Linked DNA regions of Homo sapiens: regions 2 and 3 are each linked to region 1. Evidence: promoter capture Hi-C in 16 types of primary human blood cells and fetal thymus (Javierre and others, 2016). All regions are on one chromosome and are shown on one strand. Each heading gives the region's core, a stretch centred on a gene start or on the middle of the fragment in contact. The rest is flanking DNA. Distances are from core to core; before and after follow the strand shown. Region 1 holds the start of MBOAT7 (membrane bound acylglycerophosphatidylinositol O-acyltransferase MBOAT7). Region 2 holds the start of NAPSA (napsin A aspartic peptidase). Region 3 holds the start of PNKP (polynucleotide kinase 3'-phosphatase).

What was found. Contacts are between HindIII fragments. The CHiCAGO score rates a contact against its expected background, and 5 or more counts as called.
Region 2: the fragment with the promoter of NAPSA here is called in contact with a fragment that was not itself captured in region 1 in 1 of 17 cell types (total CD8 T cells); the score reaches 5.5 in total CD8 T cells.
Region 3: the fragment with the promoter of PNKP here is called in contact with a fragment that was not itself captured in region 1 in 5 of 17 cell types (fetal thymus, erythroblasts, naive CD4 T cells and 2 more); the score reaches 11.1 in fetal thymus.

The regions. Positions count from the first base shown.
Region 1 is chr19:54,189,565-54,194,397 of GRCh38, forward strand. MBOAT7 (membrane bound acylglycerophosphatidylinositol O-acyltransferase MBOAT7) reads right to left here and starts at 16. Exons shown (of 8, transcript NM_024298.5): 1 at 1-16. It overlaps TSEN34 (tRNA splicing endonuclease subunit 34), which reads left to right and starts at 1,744. Exons shown (of 4, transcript NM_001077446.4): 1 at 1,744-2,043; 2 at 2,157-2,400; 3 at 2,552-2,809; 4 at 3,611-4,833. The coding sequence starts at 1,801. The coding sequence ends at 3,798. RefSeq lists enhancers at 1-29, 30-711, 2,680-3,196 and a silencer at 1,634-1,835. The HindIII fragment of the contact is 1,746 bases long and covers 378-2,123 here.
Region 2 is chr19:50,362,484-50,367,520 of GRCh38, forward strand. It overlaps NAPSA (napsin A aspartic peptidase), which reads right to left and starts at 3,156. Exons shown (of 9, transcript NM_004851.3): 1 at 3,056-3,156. The coding sequence starts at 3,138. The region is part of intron 3 of LOC105372437 (a long non-coding RNA gene); the gene reads left to right. RefSeq lists an enhancer at 3,357-3,506. The HindIII fragment of the contact is 17,836 bases long and covers 1,321-5,037 here.
Region 3 is chr19:49,866,326-49,870,732 of GRCh38, forward strand. It overlaps PNKP (polynucleotide kinase 3'-phosphatase), which reads right to left and starts at 1,251. Exons shown (of 17, transcript NM_007254.4): 1 at 1,144-1,251; 2 at 729-892; 3 at 74-120. The coding sequence starts at 879. It overlaps AKT1S1 (AKT1 substrate 1), which reads right to left. Exons shown (of 5, transcript NM_001098633.4): 5 at 2,714-3,735. The coding sequence ends at 3,592. RefSeq lists enhancers at 1-706, 707-1,488, 3,687-4,334 and silencers at 648-1,017, 1,088-1,387, 3,462-3,771. The HindIII fragment of the contact is 3,228 bases long and covers 1-1,641 here.

The sequences.
Region 1 (4,833 bases), core at 1-2,500:
AGTCCAGGTCCACACTGGGATCCGAGCTCCGAGTACGTGAAGGGGCGGGCCTTCGGGCTCGGAACAAGGAGGAGCCAAAAGCTTTGGACCCGAAGGGGAACAGACGGGCTCTGGAAAGGAGGCGGGGTCTGGAGCTCGGCGTGAGGAATGAGGCGGGGTCTCCCTTCGGGTTCCTTCGGGCACAATCGGGAGCTTGAGTTCTCCGGAAGCGGGGCCACAAACTTCGGCTCACTTCGGCAATAGTCGAGAACGGAGAGCTGAGGCCACTGTGGGCGGAGCCACATGTTTCGGCTTTCTTCGGAGGTAGTCGAGTCCTTAGGGTCACTGTTCCGATGTGGGCGGGGCCACAGACTCGGCCGGATGTGGGTGGGGCCACAAGCTTCGGTTTACTTCGTAGATAGTTGGGTACAAGTGACGCTAGGATGATAGGCGGAGTCAACAGGTTCGCCAGACACCCATGAGTATTTACAAGGGGGCGGGGCGAAAGCGACTTGCCCTCAAAGGGGCGGAACCCCGAGGGCCGGCGTGCGCCTACGGGACCGGGCCAGGATGACGATCCTCAAGTTCCCAAGTAGAGGAGAGGAAGCGGCAGAGGGAGGTGCGCTCAGTGGGGCGGAGCCAAGGTGGCCCCCGCGGGAGGAGGGCGGGGCTTCGGTCCTGCGAGGGGCGGGACCTGACTTCCCGCGGCGCTGATGGGGCGGGATGACGAAGTTGACGAGGGTGTCGGCATGAGGGGGTGGAGCAAGGAGCGCGTGGCGCGGTGCGCAGTGGGTGGCTCCACCTCGACTGCGAATTACTGTTTATGAGGTGACTCGCTGGTTCTATCGGTGGACAGTGGGACATTCTGAAGGGAGGCAAGGAGGCGGACTGAGCGCTCCCAATTGGGGTGAGCCCGCCCGAGCGGAGAGTGGACGGCGGGTGTCCAGGGGGCGGGGCTTTCGGCTGTGGGGTTCGGTCGTAGGGCGGGAACTCCCCAACTGGGGTGCGCTGGCGCTCGGAGGGGGCGGGGCCACAGGCCGCGAGGCTGCCGGGAGCCGATGACGCCCGAACGCCGAACCTATTGCGTCCGGGAGGAGGCGGGGCTACGGATTCGGCCGAGCCGAGAACACCCGAACGTCAAATTGCTGGCGTTCGAGAAGGGGGCGGGGCTGCGGATTCGGTGGAGCCGAGGACGCCCGAACGCCGAACTTCCTGTGCTCGGGAGGGGGCAGGGTTTTGTACTGTGGGAGTCTGAGAGCGAGGAGGTCCGAAAGCCGAATCACAGTCGTTCGGAAAGAGGAGGAGCGAAGGCTCGAGCGTCCGGAAGAGGGTGTGGCCTCGGCGGTGCCTTAGCCTCCAGAGCTTCTGACCGCTGACGGGAACACCCGAAGGGGGACGCCCACTTTGCAAGAGGGTGGTGCCAAAATGGACCTTTGTAAGGGGGCGTGTCGCCGCGCTTGCGGAGGTTTGTTTTTCACGCTCCAAGGCGCAATGGTAGGTACGGCAGTGCGGGCACAGAGCGGGTGCCGACCGCAGGGTCACAAGGGTAGAGCGGGACCCTGGGGGCTTGGCGAGGGGAGAGGGTCGGGGGCTTGTCTCCGGCGTCTCGTCTCCGGCGGCCGCGAGGCCTGGTGGGATCGCCCGGGGGCGGGGCCTGGCGCTCGGGCCCAGCAGGTGGTGAACGGCGGCTGAGCGAGGCCCCGCCCCCTGAGGCCTAGGGGCGGGGCTTCGCCGAGACCCCGGAGGCTTTGGGTGCGCTGCAGCGGTCCGCGGCGCGCAGCTGTTTCGGTAACTGCTTTGCCTCCCGGCTCCCGCAGGAGGATGCTGGTGGTGGAGGTGGCGAACGGCCGCTCCCTGGTGTGGGGAGCCGAGGCGGTGCAGGCCCTCCGGGAGCGCCTGGGTGTGGGGGGCCGCACGGTAGGCGCCCTGCCCCGCGGGCCCCGCCAGAACTCGCGCCTGGGCCTCCCGCTGCTGCTGATGCCCGAAGAGGCGCGGCTCTTGGCCGAGATCGGCGCCGTGACTCTGGTCAGCGCCCCGCGTCCAGACTCTCGGCACCACAGCCTGGTAAGGGGGCGGGGCTCGAACTCGGGTTCGGTGGGAGCGGGACCTGGGAGTCAAGTTTCCTGGCTTCTGAAGGGACCATAAGCTTGGAGGTTCCAGCGAAGTGTGCTTCTCAGGCCCTGACATCCTTCAAGCGCCAGCAAGAGGAGAGCTTCCAGGAGCAGAGCGCCTTGGCAGCTGAGGCCCGGGAGACCCGTCGTCAGGAGCTCCTGGAGAAGATTACGGAGGGCCAGGCTGCTAAGAAGCAGAAACTAGAACAGGCTTCAGGGGCCAGCTCAAGCCAGGAGGCCGGCTCGAGCCAGGCTGCCAAAGAGGATGAGACCAGTGATGGCCAGGCTTCGGGAGAGCAGGAGGAAGCTGGTGAGCATGGGAGGTGGAGTCCAGGGACCACGGGAAGGAGAGGAGAGATCTTTTAGGAATTTTAGCTGGGAATCCAGTGCCTGGGTCTCCCTGAGGGTGAGAAGACTTTACCCCTTGAATTTACCAAACTCTTCTCTGTACTCCCCACCAGGCCCCTCGTCTTCCCAAGCAGGACCCTCAAATGGGGTAGCCCCCTTGCCCAGATCTGCTCTCCTTGTCCAGCTGGCCACTGCCAGGCCTCGACCGGTCAAGGCCAGGCCCCTGGACTGGCGTGTCCAGTCTAAAGACTGGCCCCACGCCGGCCGCCCTGCCCACGAGCTGCGCTACAGTATCTACAGAGACCTGTGGGAGCGAGGCTTCTTCCTCAGTGCGGCTGGCAAGTTCGGAGGTGACTTCCTGGTCTATCCTGGTGAGTATGGGTTGGGGCCTCTGGTTGCTGTGCCTTTCCATACGATCCCAATGTATTCTGCGTTTTTCTTTTTTTTTTTTTTTGTCTTAATAGAGGTGGGGTCTCTTGTTGCTTAGGCTGGTCCCTATTCCTGGGCTCAAGCAATCCTTCCACCTCGGCCCCCCAAAGTGCTGGAATTATAGGCCCAGCTGCATTTTTCTTTTTTGTCTCACTTTCTCTTAGCCTCTGAAATTCATAGACAGACAGGAAACATTTGGGAGCTCCCGAACTCATTGGGCAAGCAGTTTAACGACTTTTATTAAATGATTACTGTGATCCAGAAGATTCACTTAGAAGTAGTTAGACATCAGGCTGGGCGCAATGGCTCACGCCTGTAATCCCAACACTTTGGGAGGCCAAGACAGGTGGATCACCTGAGGTCAGGAGTTTGATACCAGTCTGGCCAACATGGTGAAACCCCATCTCTACTAAAAATACTAAAACTAACTGGGCGTGGTGGTGGGTGCCTGTATTTCCAGCTACTCGGGAGGCTGAAGCAGGAGAATCATGTGAACCCAGGGGGCAGAGGTTGTAGTGAGCCAAGATCGTGCCATTGCACTCCAGCCTGGGGGACAAGAGCGAGACTTTGTCTCAAAAAAAAAAAAAAAGCCTAGAAGTGGAATAGTTGTGTCCAAGAGCATCTGTTTTAGAGTATCTATAGTGATGGCTGAAATGATCTCAGATCTCCTCCCAGTGGTCGTTCCCGTGGCGTCCAGCCGTCTGCCATTGGTCACTGCTTCAGTGCCTCTCTCCTTCCCCCAGGTGACCCCCTCCGCTTCCACGCCCATTATATCGCTCAGTGCTGGGCCCCTGAGGACACCATCCCACTCCAAGACCTGGTTGCTGCTGGGCGCCTTGGAACCAGCGTCAGAAAGACCCTGCTCCTCTGTTCTCCGCAGCCTGATGGTAAGGTGGTCTACACCTCCCTGCAATGGGCCAGCCTGCAGTGAACTCCAGAGACCTAGGGGATGTGGCTGTGTCGGCAGCAAGAGCCTTTCTGGATGTTCCCCAGCTCTTCTCTGGGAGTCTAGAACATCCTCCTACCTTTCTCCGCGGTTAGTTTTTGATTCCAGGTTTTCGAACACTACATCTTTTTTATGTTCTTCCTTGTTTCAAAGCACTTATTGGCTGTGTTTTTGTAGTTACCTATTTTCACACTGTGAGCTTCCCGAGAATGGGGCCTGGGTTTGATTCATCTGTTTTCTACAGGGTTTAAGTCTCAGGAGGTCTCAATAAACTTGGTATATAAATGTTCATGATTTGAATGTTTGCGACAGTCCTGGAACCCGTGGATGGTCTCATCTGCATGTACAGGTGAGAAAAAGGCCTGGAGGAGGGGGACTGACTTGCCCAAAGTCACACACTTAGTAAATAGCAGGCCTGGCCTTTCAAAATTGGTTTTTCTGACTCCTAAATCTGCACTCTTTCTACCTCACTAAACTTCCTTTTGAAAAGATTTCTATGAAATTTCCCAGATGCATACAAACGTTATAAATAAAAATATAGGCTGGGCACGATGACCCACACCTGTAATCCCACAGAACTTTTGGAGGCCAAGGCAGGGGGATCGCTTGAGCCCAGGAGTTTGAGACCAGCTCTGGCAACATTGTAATACCCAGTCTCTACAAAAAATAATTTAAAAAAAAATTAGCCAGGGATCCCTTGAGCCTGGGAAGTTGAGGCTGCTGTGAGCTGTGATTGCACCACTGCCCTCCAGCCTGGGAGACAGAGCAAGAACCTGTCTCAAAAAATATATATATGTGTGTGTGTATATATGTAAATATACACACATGTATGTATATATATGTGTGTGTATATATATATATATTATGAAAGGAAATGAGTATTGTAATTTTAGGAGTTCAGAGCCTGGGGAGAAAGGAAGGACTCTGGAAGGCGTTCTGCTTTTTCATGGCCTGGGTAGTGGTGAATTTTTTTGATACTGTATATTTATATTTTAGACTCTTTTTTGGATGTGTTATATT
Region 2 (5,037 bases), core at 1,906-4,405, 3.8 Mb before region 1:
TGATGACAAATATCCCCAAAGACTTTACAAGAGCAAACCATCCCAAACAGACCTTTCCATGTCCAAATCCCTTAAAATAAGCTATTCCCAAGGAATTGACATTCTTAAAGATTTCCCAAGACCCTAACAGAAAACCTAACCTTTGCAAAAGCCCTTGGGTGGTGGCCCCTGCATGCTTCAGTTCGTGAGGTTAGGGACTATTTTCCCCACCCTTGAGGAGAAAAATGTAAGCGTCAAATCTTAATTGTCTTGCTGTGTTGCCCGTGCTGATCTCAAACTCCTGGCCTCAGCCTCCTAAAGTGCTGGGATTACAGAGGAGAGCCACTATGCCCTGTCCGGGTTCCTTTAAACTGTATTTGCAAAAGCAGGAGGCAAACAGGATTTGGCCCTTAAGCTGAGTGTTTGCAACCCTTGACTTAGAGGGCCAATTACAATTCAGGTATCTTAGTTGCTAATTAAGTAGGTCTAGGATGGAGCCGAGAATTTGGATTTCTAACAAGTTCCCAGGTCATGACGATGCTGTTGATACAACATTTGGAGACTCATTTTCTTTGCATTGACTTAGAAAATGGCCATGAGACATTAGGTTCAAAAAGCAGGTTAACAAGCACCATGTGCGGTAATATCTTCGTTCCTGCCTTTAGTCACTCCTTGAAGCACTTGTCACATCACTCACACCTTTCCCGTCACCCCCCATGAGTCAGTCTTTGAGAGGCACGAGAATGTGAAGTGGGGAAAACTCTTCCTGGAAGTGTACACCCCTCCCCCTACCAAGAGTTCCAGGGAATGAAGACAAGAGAGGAGAAAAAGAGAGATGGGGGCGGGGAGGGGACATCAGAGGTAAGGTAGTGGGAAGACTTCTTGCATAGGGTCCCCAAGATTGGATTTCTTTTTCTTCTTTTAAACTTTTTATTTGAAACAGGGTCTCCCTCTGTCACCCAGGCTGGAGTGCAGTAGTGCAGTCAGGGCTCACTGCAGCCTTGATCTCCAGGGCTCAAGTGATTCTCCCACCTCAGCCTCTGGAGTAGCTGAGACTATGGGCACACCACCACACCTGGCTTTTTATTTTATTTTATTTTATTTATTAATTTTTTTTTTAGACAAGGTGTCACCCTGTTGCCCAGCCTGGAGTGCAGTAGCAGGATCATAGCCCACTGCCCCCTCGAACTACTGGGCTCAAGCAATCCTCCTTCCTCACCCTCCTGAACTAGCTGGGACCATGGGTGTGCACCACCACACTGAGCTAATTTTTGTATTTTTTGTAGAGGTGGAGTCTGGCCATGTTGCCCAGGCTGGTCTCAAAACTCTTGGCCTCAAACAAGCTTCCCACCTTGGACTTCCAAAGTGCTGGGTTACAGGTGTGAGCCATGTCTCTGGCCAAAAACATGACTTCTTCAGGCCAGTTTGATGGGCGTGATGTGGGGGAGTCTCAGTTTAAATGTCACATATCTGGGGCTCGAAGATGGGAGGAGTGTGTCACAGGTCTGGAAACCACAGTACCTAATCATCAGAGCTCATAGTAGGGTCTGCAGAGACCTCTCAAAAACATGTCCTGGCCAGGCGCAGTGGCTCACGCCTGTAATCCCAGCACTTTGGGAGGCTGAGGCAGGCAGATCACGAAGTCAGGAGTTCAAGACCAGCTTGGCCAACATGGTGAAACCTCATCTCTACTAAAGATACAAAAAAAATTAGCCGGGCATGGTGACTCACGCCTGTAATCCCAGCACTTTCAGAGGCAGGAGAATGGTGTCAGCCTGGGAGGTGGAGGTTGCAGTGAGCTGAGATCGCGCCATTGCACTCCAGCCTGGGCGACAGGGCAAGACTCCGTCTCAAAAAAAAAAAAAAAAAAAGGCCAGGCGCGGTGGCTTACGCCTGTAATCCCAGCACTTTGCGAGGCTGAGGTGGGTGGATCACGAGGTCAGGAGATCGAGACCATCCTGGCTAACACTGTGAAACCCCATCTCTACTAAAAATACAAAAAATTAGCCGGGCGTGGTGGCGGGTGCCTGTAGTCCCAGCTGCTTGGGAGGCTGAGGCAGGAGAATGATGTGAACCCGGGGGACAGAGCTTGCAGTGAGCCAAGATTGCGCCACTGCACTCCAGCCTGGGCAACAGAGTGAGACTCAGTCTCAAAAAAAAAAAAAAAAAAAAAGTCCTGAGAGGAGGGGGAGGGGTCCTCAATCTAGAGTCTCAGTGTTGTAAGATCTGGGACTTAAAAGGGCTCTGGGACCGGACGCGGGGGCTCACAGCTGTAACCACAGCACTTTTGGAGGCTGAGGCGGAAAGATCACTTGAGGTCAGGAGTTCAAGACAGCCTGGCAAACATGGCGAAACCCCATCTCTACTAAAAATACAAAAATTAGCCGGGCGTGGTGGCATGTGCCTGTAGTCCCAGCTACTTGGGAGGCTGAGGCAGGAGAATCACTTGAACCCGGGAGGCAGAGGTTGCAGTGAGCTGAGATCGCCCCACTGCACTCCAGCCTGGGTAACAGAGCAAGACTCTGTCTCAAATAATAATAATAATAATAAATAATAATAATAATAATAATAATAATAAAAGGGCTCTGGTCAGCCAGGCGCGGTGGCTCACGCCTGTAATCCCAGCACTTTGGGAGGCCGAGGTGAGCGGATCACGAGGTCAGGGGTTCCAGACCAGCCTGGCCAACATGGTGAAACCCCGTCTCTACTAAAAATACAAAAATTAGCTGAGCATGGTGGCGCGAGCCTGTAATCCCAGCTACTTGGGAAGCTGAGGCAGGAGAATCGCTTGAACCCAGGAGGCAGAGGTTTCAGTGAGCTGAGATCATGCCATTGCACTCCAGCCTGGGCAACAGAGTGAGACTCCATCTCAAAAAAAAGAAATCTGGTCTTAAGAGATGTCAGAGTGGAGCCCTTAGGGGTGACAGCCTGGTTTAGAGATCTGGAAAGCTGAGAAAGAAGCTCTAGGGATCCTGGGTGCCAAGTTTGGGGATCACTGAACTGGGAGTCCTAGACTTAAAGGGCAAGAGGCAGAAAATCCCTCCTAAGGTTGGGGTGGTAGATGGGGTCACCATACCGGATCAGTGTGGCCCCGGAAGGCTCCACATTCAGCAGAGGCAGCAGCAGCAGCAGGGGTTGCAGCAGCGGTGGTGGAGACATCGCTGGGGACCTGGGTGTGAACCCAGGTGTCCTGGGGCCTCATTTTCTTTCCCCTGTGACTCCACCCTGTTCATGCCCCACCTCCAGGTTTAGAAGGAGACCAGGACATGAAATCTGTCCGCAGGTGACGCAGTGGGACAAGGATGTTTTTTGAAGATTTGTGCAGAGTATTTTTGTAGGGTTGGCAGAAGTAGCATCCTGTGCTCCTGGTGCTCCTCACTCCCTACTTGGGTGGCAGTGGTGGTGGGGTCTCCTCCACCGTCACCACCTCCCACCCCCCCATCCTTCAGCTGCTGTCAGTTTTACTTTTAACTTTCACATAACTTTTCTGAGACTTATTAACCACAAGTGTTTCCTTGGCCAAGTGGGAGAGACCAGCAGGTATCTGTGAAGGGCCTGGGGGAAGGGAGAAAGGACATGATTAGACACCTGCCCTCACATATGAAGTGGGCCCGCATTTCAGGACCCAGTCTCTTACTGTTTTATTTGTAGGTGAAGTATGTTTCTTGTTGACAACAGATCATTGGGTATTGTTTTTTGTTTGTTTGTTTTTGTTTTTGTTTTTTGGTTTTTTTTTTTTTGAGACCGAGTTTCACTCTTGTTGCCCAGGCTGGGATTACAGGCATGCGCAACCACGCCCCACTAATTTTGTAGTTTTAGTAGAGACAGGGTTTCTCCATGTTGGTCAGGCTGGTCTAGAACTCCCGACCTCAGGTGATCCGCCCGCCTCAGCCTCCTAAAGTGCTGGGATTACAGGCGTGAGCCACTGCACCCAGCTGATTCTCAATTATTTCAATCTCTTTGTTAAATTTATGTGATGGAATCTGAATTCCTTCTGTGTGTTAGCTTGAATTTCTTTGAGTTTCCTCAAAACAGCTATTTTAAATTCTCTGTCGGAAAGGTCACATATCTCTGTTTCTTCAAGGATTGGTCCTTGGTGGCTTATTTGATTTGTTTGGTAAGGTCATTTATTCTGGATGGCCTTGATGCTTATAGATGTTCATTGGTGGCTGGGCATTGATGAGTTATTTATTTATTTATTTATTTATTTATTTATTTATTTATTTAGATGGAGTTTTGCTCTTGTTGCCCAAGCTGCAGTGCAATGGTGTGATCTCAGCTCACTGCAACCTCTGCCTCCCAGGTGCAAGTAATTCTGCCTCAGCCTCCCGAGTAGCTGGGACTACAGGCACCCGATACCACCCTGGCTAAATTTTTTTTTTTTTTTTGAGATGGAGTTTCACTCTTATTGCCTAGGCTGGAGTGTAATGGCGCCATCTTGGCTCACTGCAACCTCTGCCTCCTGAGTTCAAGCGATTGTCCTGTCTCAGCCTCCCAAGTAGCTGGGATTATAGGCGCATGCCAGCTAGTTTTTGTATTTTTAGTAAAGACAGGGTTTCATCATATTGGTCAGGCTGGTCTCGAACTCCTGACCTCAGGTGATCCACCTGCCTCGGCCTCCCAAAGTGCTGGGATTACAGGCATGAGCCACCGCACCCAGCCTACACCCAGCTAATTTTTGTATTTTTAGAAGAGACAGGGTTTCACCATGTTGTCTAGCCTGGTCTCAAACTCCTGACCTCAGGTGATCTTCCTGCTTCAGCCTCCCAAAATGCTGGGATTAGACATGAGCCACCATGCCTGGCCATGTTAGGTATTTATTGTAGTCTTTGCAGACAAGGCTTGTTTGTACCTGTCCTTTTTGGGGAGGCTTTCCAGGTATTCAAAAGTACTTGGGTGTTGTGATCTAAGCCATGTCTGCATTAGGGGGCTCCCCAAGCCCATTAATGCTGTGGTTCTTGCAAACTCATAGAGGTACTATCTTAGTGGTCTTAGATAAGATCCAGAAGATTTATCTGGATTACCAGGCAGAGACTCTTGCTCTCTTCCCTTGCTTTC
Region 3 (4,407 bases), core at 1-2,500, 4.3 Mb before region 1:
TTCACTGACGGCTTGCAATTCCTCCCCAAATCCCATCCCCAGGCCTTGCTGGCCCTTGCAGAGGCACTGATACCTGTTTCACTGCCACTGTCCGGGTCTCAGGATCTGCGACCAGCTCCACTGAGGATTGGAGGGGTGGAGTCAGGATTTGCATCCTTGTGTGATTGGGTCCCTCATTTCTGGGGAGTGTGGCCTGCTTCAGGCTATAGCATCCAGGGAGTAAGAGGCAGTTTATTTCTACATGGGATTGGCTCCTTGACATGCAGTAGCCAGATAGTGGCACTAGGATTGCCTGACACTGGTCCTTGCAAGGGACAGGGAGGTACTTTTCTCTACAGAATTGGTTTCCTCCTTGACAAAAAATGTGGCTAGATATAGGTCCGGGGCTTGGCCTGTTACCATCCATCCCAACCTAGCGACATTTACTTTTCTCCACAGGATCATTTTTCTCTTGACGAAGGTCGTCGCCTGTTTCTGGATTTCCCGATGGCCTGAGCATCATCCGCGCAGTGAACATCCTCCCTAAATCGGCTCGATCCCCTCTCCCCCAAAGGATCTAGCTAATTCTAAATCAAGCACAAACTTTATCTTCCTGTACTCCCTAGAGAGCACCTTCCGACTTCGGGGCTGGCTGCACCACTGCAATCCCGCGTAGCAGCCAAGCGTCCCTCTGGATTGTTCCCGCTTTTGCAGCAGGCCACACCCCCTCCAGCTCAGGCCCCGCTCACCTTGAGTTCTGGAGCACTTCCGGTCCGTAACCTGGGTCAGGGGTCCCCTGCCCAGGACCAGGGCTTGCCCGTCCGAGGGCAGGAAGATGGGGGGCGCTCCCCCAGGGGGGCTCTCGAGCCACAAGCGGCCCGGGGCCTCCACCTCGCCCATCCTGGGTGCCGGCCTGGGGAGCAGGTAAACGGGCTTGAGCGGCGCACAGCCCCAATTTGCTGCAGGAAGTCCCGCCTCCTCCCACATCCACTAGAAAGTTTCCCCACCATTAACTGCTCCGGAAGTCCCACCCGCTCGCCTTCCGCGGGTCGACCCGTTTCCCAGGCGACGACGCGTGCTCCATCCCTCCCCGAGTTGCAATCCCCACTTTCCAGCGTACAGGCAGAGAGCCTCGCACATGCCTCCGCCCCGCCCCGTACTCACCCGGGACCGCGGCTTGGGCTCACGGCCACTTCCGACCAGGGAGGTCCTGCCCGAGGTGCCCCGCCTGCAACCCGGCCGGCGGCGGTCGGTTCCTCGGCGGACGGAAATGACTCGTCCCCTCGTGGGTGGGGGGCGGGGCCTGGCCTCCTCCCACAGCAGCCACGCCCCTTCCCCGACTCCCGGCCCCCAGGGTCTCTCGGCAGCCCTGACCTTCATCTCTCTTGCTGCAACGCGAGGCTCAGGCCGGTAGCGGGGACTGGATCCTCCGTTAGCAGATTTGCCTCTTTCCACCTTGACTTCTAATTTTCATCCCAGGGAGGAAGATTTTTTTCCCATCTGATGGTCATTGTCAGTCGAGGAAACCTCCGCCCCCGACAGCGCCCCTAAGTCCTTCTTTGGCTTCACCCTCGATGTTCTAGTTTCCTCATCTATAAAAAGGATAATCGTTTCCGCTTCGTGGGGTTACCATGACGATTAAAGGAGCTAACACGTGACAAAAGCTTTAAAAAATGGGTGGTAGTGAGCCCTGTTTAAGTCTTTTTTTTTTTTTTTTTTTGAGACGGAGTCTCACTCTGTCGCCCAGGCTGGAGTGCAGTGGCGCGATCTCGGCTCACCTGCAAGCTCCGCCTCCCGGGTTGACGCCATTCTCCTGTCTCAGCCTCCCGAGTAGCTGGGACTACAGGCGCCCGCCACCACGCCCAGCTAATTTTTTGTATTTTGAGTAGAGACGGGGTTTCACCGTGTTAGCCAGGACGGTCTCGATCTCCTGATCTCGTGATCCGCCCACCTCGGCCTCCCAAAGTGCTCAGATCCGTTTAAGTCTTATTTAGTGTTAGCATTCTTTCGGTAGTGGTCTGGTGGGACTACGTTTACCTAGTCCTAATTTCGGACGAGGTTCCACCTGCTTTCTAACCTCCAGCCATTTTTTTTTCCCTTTGGAGAAGGGGTCTCACTGTGCTGCCCAGGCTGATCTCGACCTCCTGGTGTCATGTGATCCTCCCGCCTTGGCCTCCCAGCGTGTTGGGCTTATAGGCGTGAGGCACCAAGCCCAGTTGCTCCAGTCCTTTTATAATAGAAGACTCCCGGCTGGAGTTCCTGGCTTTGCTGGTGAATATGTGGGCTCTGTCTCCAACACTCACCTCCTCAAGATTGGGTTCCATGGTCACATAAGACTGGGATGCTCTCCTCCACCCCATGAACCTGTGTCTTCATATCTATAAAATGGGCACAAAGCCAGGCGCCGTGGCTCACGCCTGTAATCCCAGCACTTTGGGAGGCCAAGGCGGGTGGATCATTTGAGGTCAGGAGTTCAAGACCATCCTGACCAACATGATGAAACCCTGTTTCTACTGAAAATACAAAAATTACCCGGGCGGCAGTGGCGCGTAATCCCAGCTACTCGGGAGGTTGAGGCAGGAGAATCGCTTGAACCTGGGCGAGAGTGGGACCCTGTCTCAAAAAAGTAAATAAAATGGGCACAGTAATTCCAACCCCCAGCTATTCACTGATAATCAGACGCTGCCATTCGGTTTCAGAAAATGTTGAATGAACACTCACAACACACTTCACATTTATCTCAGAGGTAAAACTCTTTAATCTCAGAGCGCCCCTCCCAACTGCCGATCCCCCAACCCCTCACTCTCTCCCCCACACCAGGGCCGGAGAGTGAGGGCCCCTGCCCCCCACCTTGGGTGGACGAGGGCCCTTTAAGGCACCTGTGGAGGTGGGGGGCGAGGGGCGGGAGCTGGTACCATCCTGGATGCAGGGACGGGCTTCGATTGGCAGGCTGTTGTGGGGATGGATGGAACCAATGAAAGGGGGTGCCAGAGGCAGGGACAGTTTGGGGCCATCCCTGAGGGGGTCAGGGAACAAGTTGTCGGGACGTGGGCAAAGACGACCCCAGTCCCCGTAGTGTAAAGAACGTAAATTGAAGGCCCCGGGCCAATTCTGGGAAGAGGAGGGCTTGGCCACGCCCCCAGGAAGCTGGAGCCAATTGGGAGGGAGAACTCAGGAAAAGCGGACGGTGACTATGTAGAGACTGGTCAAGCCCTTTACAGGATTTGAGCCAATCAAAAAAAGAGCTGTCCAGCGACTAGGGGATGGAGCCAATGCCGTGCGAGCAAATCCCTTGTCGCTAGGCGGAAAACAAAGGAGTTGACCCATTTAGAGCTTAGAACTCAGCGAGCCAATCCCTTAATAGAAGGAATCTGTCGCTAGGCGGAGAGAGACGACAGACCCAATCGGGAAACGGGACAGATGCCGCTCCTCGGCGCGGCAGGTCGTGGGCTGGAAGGACGGCGGGGATTGGCAGAGGCGGGACAATCTTGGGAATGGGAGACGCAAGGAGGCCGGTCCCGGATCGGCCTCAGATTAGCAGGCCCCGGGAGTGGGGCGGGGGCGTAGTGTGGGACGGGGCGGACGCGGCCCGGGGCGCTCCCTCCCTGGACTTCAATATTTCCGCTTCAGCTTCTGGAAGTCGCTGGTGTTAAGCCGCGGCCGTGGCAGGTCCCCGAAGACCTGGGTGTCCTCGGCCTCTCGCAGCACCAGCGCGCGCATGCTCGCCGCGATGCGGTCCAGGTCGGGCGAAGAGGGCTGCGGGGACGGCGACGGGGCGAGGTCAGCGCCGGCAGGGCAATCCCCCTGCACCCACACGCGGTCCAGGGGTGCACCCGGGCTCCAAGCCCACTTCTAGCACGTCCCTGCCCTGCCACCTGTGCCCTGCGATGCCCACTGCCAGCAGTGCCCCTCCCCGTCTTGCTCCACGTAGGAACCCTTCTACCCGGTTCAGACACCTCCTCCACGAAGCCTACCTGCCCCTCTCCCTCTCCCCTTCTTGGCCTAGGACATTGCTTCCTACACAGTGGAAGTGCTGTTGCCTGCTAGCCATTAAGGCTGAGTGCACCGTCTCATGTCTGAGGATCTGGGCTGGGGTTTCAGTCATGTTCCAATCAGACCTCTGCCGCTGACAAACTATGAGCAAGAGGTTTTGCTTCCCTAGGCCTCAGTCTCCCCTTCTGAAAAATGGGGCGGATAACAGGGTCTCTGTGAGGGCTGAGATAATCAGCTGTTACTGCCTTATCATGTGGCCACTGCGCTACAGAAAAGATCCCTCGCTGTGTCAGCCCCCGCCAAGGAGCCTGCAGTTCTGGCACCTAGTACTGCCTCCACTACAGCCCCCGTCACCCGGAGCTGGGCCTGTCCCCTCGCAGGATGGGACCCGGAGACCCAGATCAGGAACTGGACCTGAGCCCAGTGGGAGACCAG